Regions from separate parts of the Homo sapiens genome. Here all the other regions are linked to region 2. The links are contacts of gene promoters, found by promoter capture Hi-C in blood cells and fetal thymus (Javierre and others, 2016). All regions are on one chromosome and are shown on one strand. The core of a region is centred on a gene start or on the middle of the fragment in contact, and the rest is flanking DNA. Distances in the headings are between cores, read along the strand shown. Region 1 overlaps GPRIN3 (GPRIN family member 3). Region 2 holds the start of CCSER1 (coiled-coil serine rich protein 1). Region 3 overlaps GPRIN3 (GPRIN family member 3).

Region 1 (4,220 bases), core at 1,113-3,612, 830 kb before region 2:
GATGGCAAAGTGCCTCAAGTGTTTTTTTGTTTTGTTTTGTTTTGTTTTGTTTCTTGTTCATTCTTTAATGAATTTTAAACCCTCTTCCCGCATGTGTTTAGTTGGTCTTTCATTCTTTTCCACTCATCATCATTAATTCTATAATTGAGGCTCCATCTCTTTTCTTTTATTTCCCCTACACCACCAGTCTCTGCGCTCCAAGGCAAAGGAGGTTCTCCTCCCAGTCAGGGCAAATACACAGAGATGGAATCACTTACTAGGCATTTCAGAGGCATGAATTACCACTTAAACTTCCAAGGTTGAAGCCCTGGAGAGGGAGACCAATGGAGAGTGGTGAGCACCTCCTCAGAATAAAAAGATAGCCAGAAGGCATGGGATATTTCACAGAGCAGCTACATAAATAGCTGGGTATTTACAGTCCCATTGGAATGGGTACATTCCCCAATAATGATCTGACTCAAGATCATTCCCCAAGGGTGGAAGAGCTTCCTGAGAGTCTAAGCAATTATCTAAAACAGCGGCCCTTAAGCAGTCTTAAAATACACTTGTGTATCACAAACAATTTATGAGCAATGATAAAGTACCAATGACAGCAAATTATTTATTAAAGTATAATTTAGAGCTGTTTTCTCTAATGAATTATATTAACCTCAAAAATCAAGTTATTTCTATAATAATGTCACTCTCACTCATTTCACTGGCATGTGTGGATATTTTCTTAAATAGGAAAAAAATGGAAATGAAGTTACACTGAGGTTCTGGTATCCTCATGAGAAAGAAATTTCTCGTAGTACACATACCAGCAGACTCTTGTAAGAATTCTACATCTTATATCTGTTCCGTTTTTGTCACTTCTGCTACCCTCTGCTTCTTAGTTGTTTTTAGGAGAACTAAGTCAAAAATGCATGTGTCTGTGACTTTATTTTCTACAACATTAAGGAAGTGGAGTATGGGAAAGACATACAGTTTTCAAGTTAGCCTGGCAGGGAGGAAAGGAACCCAGGTGTGGCAAGCAGGTGGTGAAGCTGTGAAGAGGAACGGAAATGAAGCTGAATTGCTCAGCATACAGGAAGGAAGAAAGAGGTACAGGGCTGCTTGGTTAGGACAGAGGAGGGACCCAGGTTGTTAGGCTACCAGGGGAATTCTCTGAGATCATGACCAGGAAAAGAGCCCATTCTAATTTTGTTGAACTATATTTATTACTAAGCTTATTCCCGTTGTCTGGGAATTATTTGAGAGTTCAGACTATGTATTATTCAATTTTGAGTCCCTAGCACACAAAACAGGGTTTTACATACATACATATATATATATGTATATATATATATCTCAAGTGCTCGATACAGATTTATTAAATGATCCAAAGAATTCACCTTTCTTAAACCAGGGCCTTCTGCCAACTCCATTTCACATTCTATCTCTCACCTCCTAAATAAATTCCTATTTCCAGTTGGAGGAAAGCTTTGATTCAATTTGCAAAGTAGAAGGAGCTGACATGCTCTCAATCCAGTCCAGCTCAGGTTATTAACTTTTCCCCTCCCTCTCGGAGGCTCAGATTTCATCACTCAAAAGCCACAAACCCCAGAGGGAGGATTTTTTAAAAACCTATCATTATAGTTCTAAACATCAAAATAGCCACCAGGGGAATAGCAGAACAGTTTCTTCGTAAAAGAGCATAAACATTTCAGTGAACTAAATTTGTGTTTTAAATGGCACTTTCAGAAAAATAACTTTATCTCTAAAGACTTTTAACACCTATGGTCTTTTATATATTATCAACCCATTTCAGGTGACAGGACGCTTGATACTTAAACACAGCCACCATTCTATAAGGAAATGCCACTCTCTTCAAAGAAAGCATAGAGTCAATGTGGCACTGTGTCCTCTGTTAGTTTCGATTGGTACTATTCTCGGCACTGTCTTCTCGGAGTGAAGCTGTTGAAACACCGACACTTTAGGATTAATAATTAGATGAGGGGATGTTTTTAGAAATAAAGTAGGAGGCACGAAGTGGGGGTGGTATGCAGCAAGTGTGCATGAGGAAGGAAAGTGGCAGGAGAAGTTGACAAGGCATGAGAGATTTCAGAGCGCTATGAAGACAGCTTTCCCTACCGAAGAGATCTGTCTGAGTTTTCCATCTTGTTGCCCCAAAAGGGCATTTGTCTTTATTTGCAACATGAATAAATCAACCCTGATGCAGTCACCTCATTTTTTAGCCATAGTAACGGAGCAGTTCTACACAATCAAGTGGCCAGACTGTGCAGTGATCTGCCTAGCCTCAGAGAGGGGTTGCAAACACAGCCTACTGTAATCATTAACTGAGCATTTCCAGGCTATACAGAAACACAAGCTGGGATACGAGTTGATACTACTCCTGAAAGTTTATCTCAACTGCCAGGCCTGCTAAATAAAATGCAGCATCACTTGAAAGATTGAGATACACTCTGGACTTTCAGGAAGCTATGCAAGTTTGGTCTATGTGTAAAAAGTTATACATAAGATAAAGATATGGTGCATTTAAAAATACATAAAGCAATCCAATGTGAGATCTCAGTCATTGGTCTTTAAGGTAAAGAAAAAATAAATTACATTATTGTTAAAACTGCTAATATTTTTCATTTGCCACTTGTCGTACAGTAAAAAGCAAGCAAGTACACAGATGAAAAACTCCGTTATTCTTTAACAGACTACGTTAACTCAATTTTTATTCATTAAACTTTCACAGACTCTACAAATTTTGATACTGCAAAATTTTTAGACCCTCACCATGGTTAATGGGGGTTAACTATATTTGGCGCCATCACCTTTCTGCTTTGTAGACACATCAATTTCATGAGTACAGTCATAGCATTTTGGAGCTCAATGGTACTTAGGGAACACCTAAGTAGTCCAGACTTTACAGACTCAATACCTACAGGTTTGGGGTAGTAACACAACTAAGTGAAGCTGTTGGGCACAAGTGACTTATATAAATGCTCAATGTCAGTGAGACATTGAGAAGTGGGGACTACAGCGAAGTAATGAAGTAGCATATATATTGCTGTTCAGCTCCAGCCTAGAGAATGTGGGTGAGGGCTTCATTTTTTATAATAGATCTGATGTTTAAACACTGGCTTAATTAAAAAATAAATACCTGGAGGCCACAGTTTTCCTGCTAGGCCCACAGACTGCCAGTTTTCAATTCTGATTTGGTACATATATCTCCAAATCTGAGGCCCAGACAGGTAAAGTGAAGAGTACCAGGTCTCTCAGATGCTCACAGCAAAGCTTTCTTCTGCTCTGAGAATCCACTTGGGTAGACAATCCCTCATATGAAAGGAGACTGTAAGTGCATTTTCACTCACTTAATCAGAGCTCAGCCCCTTACCCTGACAATGATAGACTTCTGCTCTCTGACTGTTTTCAGAACATGTTCGACATGAAAACAAGAACAATCACCCATACCCACTTTGTCATAAGCAATTTTTACCCAACCAAGGATGCAGGTGAAAATGAACATGCATTTACTAACTTTAGCTCTGACTAAAATTTTTACTGGAATTTAAAATTCTTAATTTTAATTAACAATTACAATTTTAGCTGCTTCATTTTTACCTGCATTTTTCAAGGAGAAATACCTTATAGAAAAATTCAAAGAAAGGCATGCTTAATTAACAATATGACTAAGTATAAATTTAAGAATCATGCTATGTATAAAATAAATTAGAAACAGGTCTTAAGAATTACAAAAGTTTTGCTGCAATCATGGAGCTTGAAACCATGCTTTGAGTGGATTGAGAAACTAATTTAGAGTGAAGGAATGAGCATTTCAAAGCGATGTAATGGCAAAGGCAAAGATCAAACTCCAAGAAAGTGGAACTCACAGTGAGTCAAATGTCTTTTGCATTTTTGAACAACAATTTTAAAAAAATGTATACTGAGAAAGCACATTCATATCACAGAGTCAAAAGGAAGAACTACAAGAAAAACTTCTATGTTATATTCAGCATATCTGTCCTGTACAGTCATAATTCAGAATAAAGACACAGAGGCAATGCAAAAGTTCAAATCTTGATAATATTTGCAGGCTAATTACATTTTAGAAAAACTGTCAACAAGAATTGAAACAAAAAATGCTCTGATTACTCAGAAAATATAGTTCACACAAACACTTCACTCCCTCAGGCATTTCATTAAACCAAAGTTATACATTATAAAGAAAGAGAAGAGTCTCCCATAGA
Region 2 (4,726 bases), core at 269-2,768:
GTTTGCTAAACTCTGTATGAGAGATTGAAGAATTACGAGACAGGAACATCAATGTGAAAGGGTAAAATATGTGGAGAATATATAAGGTGCCAGCATATGACAAAACCCTAAAGATGTACGATGGTCACAAGCCATGGAAGAAGATAGGACAACTGAATTGTCAACCTTGCCGCCTCCTCCGTAGCCTCCTAAATCTTATCTTCCTTTTGTCTAATTTATGAAAAATGTTTCCTATAATTGTCTCCCAAAAGCAGAGTTGTCCCCATGCTGTAATATACATTGACCACTCAGATTCATTTAAAAAATACATCTTGCTTTTATTCCCAATATAACCACATTTCAGAAGTTAGATCATAGCCAGTTAGATTACACAGAGCGTGCGCACGCGCACGCGCACACACAAACACACCTTGAAAAAACTGTAGATCACTTGATTTCTGGAAGTTTTTCTCAATACCTCAGTGCACCTGATCACAACATCTTGTAATCTGGGCAGAAGGTAAGGGAGGTGATGTTAGGCGTACAAACTTAATATTGGGGATGCATTTTCTACCTAGAAATGGTCCTACATTCTACCAGAATGGGTTAAAAACAGATGCGCGCGCGCACACACACACACACACACACACAGAATTAAATGCACTACATTTGCTGTATTGCCTGCTAAAGGCATAAATATACTGGAGTGGAGATAAAGAAGGGGATGGATGGGAAAGAGTTCAGTACTTAGTGTAAACCTGAAAGGAAATGAGGCAGTGCAAGGGGAGAGAGGATCAGGGGAAAATAAATTATGTAGGCAACAGAACCATGCATCAAAAGTCTTTTCGATTTCTAAACTGGCAAATTTTCTCCAGGGGACCATCAGTCAAATGATGTCAAATTGAGCTGATTCTCTTGTAATGCCTGTATTGTGTAGGGCCTTCCTTGTAGGAACACAAGTTCCACTCTCGGACACAGTCGCAGTGCTTGCATTATCTTACAGAATTGATTGCTGCAAATGGTTCCTGGGAGGTGTGACCTGCTTAAAGGAAAGAAGCTAGGTTTCTTTTCTTGTTACTGAGGAATGAAGACACTTGTCAGGATGTGAATTGTGTGGGTGAGAAGGAAAAGCGGCGAAAGAATCTGGTAATTCCTTCCCTTACAGGAGGAAGAGAAAAAAGATAACATCGGAACCTTGGAGAGGAGAAATACAGTGCATTTATTTCCAGCATCCCCGCAGTCACTTCACGTCTCTTCAGACTTCCCCTATTCTTTAGTCTTGACCTGCCTATGCACTTGAACTCCACATAAGCACTAGGATGGACTGGGGGAAAAGGCCAGGTCAGCACGGTGGGATACTGCTTCCCCTAAAATGAAAACTCAGCAGCGGGCCAGCAGTGGGTGTGCGCGCGTCGATGCCAGAGGATGCGTGCGTGGAATCCGGCGGACGCAGTGGGCCGGGCACCGCCCTCCAAGCCGCCCCGCCCAGCCCACCACACTCCTCCTTGTATAAAGGCCGCGCTTGGGCCCGCCCTCCTCACAGCCCCGGAGCGCGGCCTGCCGGGGAGGTGGATCTCGCGCTCCCCACACAGTCACACTCCGCGCACTCACACACTTGGAAGCGCCTCCCCACGTCCCTCCCCTGCCCTCCTCTTGCTCTGCTCTTCTCTCCCTCACCACAAATAGTCGCCGACCTACTGCCAATCCGCCTCTCCTCTCTCTCTCTCTCTGTCTCAACATGACTGACTGGGAAGCGGTGGCTCGGGCAGAGCAGCTCCGCTGGCGCAGGCAGGAGGAGCAGGAGGATTATTAAATAACGCAGCTGGACTCTGTGCAACTGGGAGTGGAGAGGAGCCCAACAGCCGAGAAGGGGAGGGAGGGCAGAGGAGGGGGACCAGGAAGGACACCCCCGTGCCCCGAAGACATAAATCCCTGAGTGCCCGGGAGGAGCCTTAACAAGCGCACGGAGCCCTCAAGGTAGTAACGCCCCTGGTGCCTCAGCGCTCAGCGGGTCGCGCGTCGCGTCGCCGCTTTGCGGGGCCGGCCGCAGGCGGACGCGGGGATGACCGCTCGGCAGGTGACCGCGCCGTGTCGGGGCCGCCTGCGAGCAGCGCGCGCCCAGGCCCGGCGTGCTCGGCGCAGAGACCTGGCCTTGCGGGCGGGGTGGGAAGGAGGCGGGCGGGCTCGCTCACCACCGGCCCGCGACTCCCAGTGCGCCGCGTGGCCATTTCCTCCACGCTGCTGCGTGGTTTGCTGCCTGCGGCCGCGGCGGCCGCTCCAGGGCGATGCGGAGCGCTGGCCAAGGCGGCGAGAGTTGGCGCAGGCTTCGGGTCGCTCCCCTTCCTCGCCACTCGCGTCCCGCAGGTAGAGGCGACCGGTCAGCGCTGGCGCCCCGGGCTGCGGGTGCTGAGGCGGGGACGGCGGCGAAGAGGGGGAAGGGGAGGAGGGGGCGGGGAGCCAGGGGCTCCCGGAGGAACCGCAGTGCGGGGCCGGGACCACCTCTTGCCTCCGCCTGCTTGTCCTCTGGCGCCAGTTTCCTGGATTGGAAGCAAGACCCTGCCCAGAGGCAGCAGTAACGGCAGCGACTTAGATTGAACCACTTGCTTTGTGGTGGAGCGTCAAGGGCCCCAGGTTGTGTGCGTGTGTGTGTGTGTGTGTGTGTGCGCGCGCGCGCGCGCTCTGGACTAACCAGTGGGTTGGTTCACCTGAGCAGAAAGTCAGCCGTAAGCTGAAACCGCATGTGGCCCCCTGGCCCCTTCGACTTTTGGCTTGTGTCCCAGGGACTCGTACACACGGTGCCAGCAAGGGGTAAGGGTGACGGAGGGATTTGTGAATGGTGCTTCTGCGTGCGTGGAGGCTGAGCCTTGCTGATGTAAAGGAGGAGGTATCCAGAGTGAGAAGAAAGGCTATTTATGGCAAAGAGTTGTGAAATTTCTTGGGGTTTCCTTTTAGTGTATCCTGAACTGCTCTCTTTCTCTCTCTCTCTCTCTCCTCTCCCTGCCTCAGAATTAGAAGCAATTATGCTTCCCCTTCCTCTCGTGGGACATGGAATATGAAATGAAGTAAAAAAAAAACTCATATTTTTACAGGTAGAAAAAAATACTTCTTAGAAGTTACAGATTCTTTGCCCTTTAATGTTTTTATGTCCTCTTCTCCACCCCTCTTACCTTTTCAGGCAGTCAGTAGGACTTACAAGTCAGAAAATACCTACTTGGTTTCAACAGCTTTCATTTCTGAAATCTTTACAGTTGAATACCTTCCTATTGAAATGTAACACACATCCTCCCTTCTCTGCCCCTCAAGGACTATTAAAAATAATGTGTACACGTTTAAAGTAAAGCTGGTTTTATTAACAGCCTTAGGGAAAACGGATAAGAGGACACCTAGGTGGGGGTCAGTTATCACTGGTTCCTTCAAAACTGGTTATTAAGGGAAGACCTAAAATACTGGTAATCTAGGCTATAATATAATTTGTCTTGGTTTCTCTTTCTGTTTGCTTTATAACAGGTACATGTTCCAGATACGTAACTTGAAACTTAAAGATGCCTTGGGACAGTGCCTGTCACGGTGCTTATAAAATGAATGTTTTCTCTTAAAAGTAGCAACCTGTACTTTTATAGAACTGTGACTGGGTTTAGTAGTAGGACAGTATCCTTAATATTGCAAACTGAAATGTCTCTAAAAGCCTGCCAAGACAATGTTTTTCAAATATTGAAATTCCATGTTGTAACCACACTTTCAATAGTTTCACAGAGAAAAAAGAGAAGTTGGTCAACCTATTGTCAGAGTGATTTGTCTTCATTTAAATTAATTAGTTATTTTGATCAAAACAAACCAACTGTTGTTTGTATTGTTTTATTGCTTTCCTAAACAGTCCTGTTCTTTGAAAAACAAAGCAGAGTTAAGGATTTGATATTTTGATTTTGTTAGATTTATATTACTTTGAAATACATTTTCAACACGGAAGCATGTGCAGCTTTAAATATTAGGTTAGAACTCAGATGGAGAACCCCATTCGGAGGGTTATTACCTCAACTATCCCAAACTATTTGAACATAGATATAATAGGGAATTAAAAAATGTAATTGATGAACTGTATTATTGCAATCATTAAAAGTCCTATTTATGAGTATTTTGTTTTTTGACAGTTAAGAGAATCAGCAACTGTTTATTATTTTAAAGATACATTATTTATACCATAGAATGTTAATTTAGATAAAACAAAGTAGAAAATGAAAAATTTGTTATATTTTTACAGTAATAGTTATTCAACCCTTTATTGCATTTTATTACTCATCATAATGCTCATAATAAAGGGCCTAACGTTTGCAAAGTACTACTGTCTAGGCATTGGGGAGGAACGGGAGATTCCTTGTTCCCTGTCTTTCAGGAACTTACTTGCCATGTGGGAGGAATCTGATGCTCATGCTTGAGCGTAGAGTTAACAACCCGTAACAATAAGAGATTACATGTCTAATGAGTACTACAGGAGTTCAGAACATGACAATAACATTTCATACTGGATTTTGTTTGAGAATGCTTCGGGGGTGGGTAAGACTTGCTTGATCTTGATGTTAAAGGATAAGCAGGATTAGTACATTGTGGATAAGAAAAATATAAGGTATAAGATGCAAGTCTCCTGGAATAATAGAAAAGAACATATAAGGGAAGATAAGTTTGTTTTGATATAAATTAAGATATTGCTGGATATTTTGCAGAGTGCAGGTTGAGTCTGTTTTGGATGTAC
Region 3 (4,295 bases), core at 171-2,670, 840 kb before region 2:
CACCTCCCACCAGACCCCACCTCCAACACTGGGGATTACATTTCAACATGAGATTTAGGCGGGGACACAGATCCAATCTATATCAGACATGGAACAACTTATCCCTTAGAGCCACTGGAAGGAACTAACCCTGCTGACACCTTGTTCTCAGATGATTAGCCCACAGAACAAGGACAGAACACATTTCTGTTGTTTTAAGCCACCCAGTTTGTGGTATTTTGTTATGGCCACTCTAGGAAACTAAAATACCCTCTCTACTCTTTCTTGCATTGCTAATAATCTCAACACAACTCAGCATTTTCTTCTATGGGAAGCCTTCCTTGCACTTTCCCATCCCTAAACCATTCCCCCTTAATTACAAGTCTTTCCTCTGTTGTCTCATTGCATTCTAAAGTCTTTATTATAATGCATTGCTATGCAGTCATCTTTTTTTTTTTTTTTTGGTCTCTTTAGTAAGAGTACTGTAGAGAGTGAGTGGGTGCCTGGTAGTCTCAGTATCCTGCATGGTGCTGGCAAGAAGAAAAAGAAGTACAGTTATTGTTTGGTGAATGCTAACATGCCTCTAAAGAAATGTGATTTTTATTTCGTGTATAATGCATTGCCAACAAAATTACTGTAACATAAAAGAATAGCCATTTCTATTACTGAAGTTAACTATATTCACTAGCAATGATGAGAATTATGTCCATCCTATCTCAAATCATGAATTATTTGCTTTGAATTTATTTTACTGTTTTGAATAGTAGTTTATAACAAAAATCAATGTCATATGAGTATCTAAATAATAGAAATATCCTTTGTAAACAATAAGATACTGGGAGTCAGGAATGTTTCCAACATGCCTTGTTACCTTGACCCTCAAGGGGTTGTAATCTCTCACCTGCTTCAGTGGTGTGCATCTATTATTGGGATAAACTCACAGATTTATAAGCCTCATTAGGAAAGGAAGGATCCAAAGTGTGTAGAACAAGCTTGTCCTTATGCAGTCCAGGACAGCTTTGAACATAGCCCAACACAAATCTGTAAACTTTCTTAAAACATATGTGATTTTTTTGCAATTTTTTTTTTTTTTTTTTTTTAGCTGATCAGCTATTGTTAGTGTGTTTTATGTGTTGCCCAAGACAATTATTCCAGCGTGACCCAGGGAAGCCAAAAGACTGGACAACCCTGGTGTAGAATATTAATCTGACAAATCACTTGTCAGAAGTATGGGATTTTTACCCACTAAAAACTACCTCTTCGTGGCCCGAGGTGGCTCAGAGAGCTATCCCCACTTTGCTGTCATGGGAACTATGAATCACAGTCTCAGAGTCTACATCGAAGACCTCACAAATCTGTGGAAATCTGCCTAATAAAGATATAATAACTTGGACTTTTAAGAATTCACTAATTTGATGACTTGCCACACATGCGATTATGTTACCCTCAGATGGTAATGGAGGAATGTTTTTCTGAAAGTGATAAGAACACTATGCACATACGTTCAGGCCTAAAAAGACCGATTGTTATTAATATTAACAAAGATAGCCAAGGCCTTTAGTGTTTTGTTTGTAAAATCCCTTGCTTCATTGAGGGCTATGAGAGGAAGTAAAGACAGGCCTTCAGAGTAATTATTTTTCTTATTCACTCAATTCATGCAGCTGAACAATAGGCCTATGTAGCACAAACATTAAACATTACTTTTTAGGCTATCCCAAATTGTTTAACATACACAATGTGCCAGGCCTGTGGTGGGTTCTAGAGAGCCACAAAGGCTCAATTCCTGCCTTCAGAAGCTCACATCCACTGGGCAGAAAGGTGATTTCATTGCTACAGATTTCAATGGTAACACAAGAAAAGAATGACTCATTCCAACTTTTGCAATCAGGGAAAGCTTCCGGGGAACCAGTGGAGATCTGCTGCAAAACAGGGAAGGAAAAAAATACCAGGAACATAGTAAGTAATCACACAGATCATGGTACACACAAGGTGGGTGGAATCTGCCAGTCCTCACCTTCAGGAAGTTCATATCTAGTGGGGGAGGCAGAAACATAAAGGGAGACTGGACTACGGTATAATGGTGAGCCCTTTGGTAGAGCTCGGCATAGGGTGTTATGAGTGCACAATGCTGGCATATCTAAGAGAAGGCCCACCCAAGGCCTCTGAGTGTAAGCAACAGCAATGCTGCCTTGAAAACTAAGCAGGACTTCACCAGTGGGGAGGAAAGGGCATTTCAGGTGCATATGGACAAGCATGAATAGATATACAGGCAGCCTACTGGGGAAGTGGTTGAGGGTGGGGTGGGGCTGGAACAATATTTAGTTGGCATGGCTGCAGCTCCGGATGCAAGATATAGGGCTAAAGGGTGTGACAAAGTAAAACTGCGGGGGGCTTTGTAAGTGAAACTGTGAGAAGTAGGGCACTGGCAGCAGGAACTGAGGGAAGGATGGACCTAGAAATACTGAAGAGGTCAAATCAGCTGTGCCCTCTGATTGAATGCGAAGGATGAAAGAATGGAAGGATCCAAGGTTTTAAGACAAGGCAGAAAAGCAACTGTGTTGAGGTAAACGCTATGACAGATGGTATCACAGGGTACCCACCACAAGCTGGTGAGGTAAGGGCCTCAGCAGGATTCTGGAAAGGTGTGCTGGGCAGAATGCCCTGAAGGATGGGGAGTCAGCCAGGTGAAGGAATGGGTGGGTGGAAGAGGCCACTAAAGCAAATGAACGGCATGAACAGAGACAGGAGGCTGAAGACCACATGCTGGAGGACTGCCAGCCATTCAGAATTACTGTCCCTTACCTTCTGGAAACATTTCACTGTGTGAGAGGCACAGTGGTTAACAATGCCTCTAGGATCAGATTATTCAGGTTCACATCTGGTTGGCCACTTACAAGCTGTGTGGCCTCAGGCAAATTAGTTGACTCCCCAGTGCCTAAGGTTTGTAACACTTGCCACCCAGGAATGAAAATAACACCTTCCTCTAGGATTGTTGTGCATTCTTAGAAGAGAGTTTTGCACACAGGTTAGCTAGTAGTAACAGCAATAATATTAGTGATTATGGTAGTAGAATTACTTGGGCTTTCTTACTAACAGGAACTCACCACCAGGTCTACCTTCCAAGTCCACTGCTCCTTCCCTAGCTCCCTTTTCTCACCCTGAAATCGCCTTTGCAAAAATTATATCAGTGAGAATATTATGGCAGTGGGGGAGATCTGATCTAGCCAACCCAACTCCCCATTCCTTGCCTTTAGCTTTCAAGCTGCCTTAATTATTCTTGGACTTAGGCCTAGGCCTAGCTAACTTTGGAAGACATTTAGATTATAGTTTAAATGAGAATGAGACCATCAGGCTAGGGGAAGGAGAGGAGCCTGAATTCTGCTAATAGGCTGGTCACAAGATATGCAACTTCCCCAATTACTACTGCAATAACATCACCAATGTAGACTGGCCTTTTGAGATATCTTTTCAGGCCTTTTGCATGTCTGACACTGCTGGCTCCACTTGGTCCTGCCAAACTGCTCCTGTGGCCCCACAGAGGAGTGACTCAGCTCAAGGGGACAGACAGCTTTGACTCCCTATGATTTCATCTCCACCCCAACCAATCAGCAGCAAGCACCTAGCCACTCTCACCCCTTCCCCCAAACTGCCTTTGAAAAATCCCTACCCTACACAGGGCGGGGTCGGTTGGGGGGTCAGGGGGCGGGGGAGGGACAACATTAGGAGAAATACCTAATGTAAATGATGGGTGCAGCAAACCAACATGGCACATGTATACCTAGGTAACAAACCTGCATGTTGTGCACATGTACCCTAGAACTTAAAGTATAATAATTAAAAAAAAAGAAAAATCCCTAAACATATGAGCCTTTATGAGATTGATTTGAGTAATAACTTTGTCTACCATGTGGCATGGCCAGCCTCGCATCAATTAAACTTTTTCTTTACTGCAATGCCATGGTCTTTATTTGTGCAGTGGGCAGGAAGAACCCCCAGGTGGTTACAACCCCATCTACTCCACAATCATAGAATAACCAAAAGATCATGCTTTATAACATGACATTTTAATTCTGAAAATGTGTTGGACACCTCAGGCTGCATCACAAATATCTCAACTTCCTGTTCTGTCACCCAATTCACTTCTTTTTACTTTTCCCAAATTTTACTATCTCCTTTCTCCATAATTACTCCTCAAATATTCTTCTGTAAACAAACTGAAACTGACAGAGATGGGGAAAAGGCATGCAAAGTAAATCAGTGTATCCAAGAAGAACTGGCTTATGAACTGGTGTTTGGGAGGGAATTACTATGGATAA

Evidence for each region. Contacts are between HindIII fragments. The CHiCAGO score rates a contact against its expected background, and 5 or more counts as called.
Region 1: a fragment that was not itself captured here is called in contact with the fragment with the promoter of CCSER1 in region 2 in 1 of 17 cell types (total B cells); the score reaches 5.7 in total B cells.
Region 3: a contact is called between a fragment that was not itself captured here and the fragment with the promoter of CCSER1 in region 2, in 1 of 17 cell types (monocytes). The highest score is 5.6, in monocytes.

Annotation. Positions count from the first base shown.
Region 1 is chr4:89,297,361-89,301,580 of GRCh38, forward strand. The region is part of intron 1 of GPRIN3 (GPRIN family member 3); the gene reads right to left. Among named protein-coding and RNA genes, the nearest start is that of GPRIN3, 8.3 kb to the right of the region's middle. The HindIII fragment of the contact is 1,806 bases long and covers 1,460-3,265 here.
Region 2 is chr4:90,125,876-90,130,601 of GRCh38, forward strand. CCSER1 (coiled-coil serine rich protein 1) reads left to right here and starts at 1,519. Exons shown (of 11, transcript NM_001145065.2): 1 at 1,519-1,956. RefSeq lists silencers at 2,077-2,276, 2,387-2,636. The HindIII fragment of the contact is 6,776 bases long and covers 1-4,726 here.
Region 3 is chr4:89,281,537-89,285,831 of GRCh38, forward strand. The region is part of intron 1 of GPRIN3 (GPRIN family member 3); the gene reads right to left. Among named protein-coding and RNA genes, the nearest start is that of GPRIN3, 24 kb to the right of the region's middle. The HindIII fragment of the contact is 902 bases long and covers 970-1,871 here.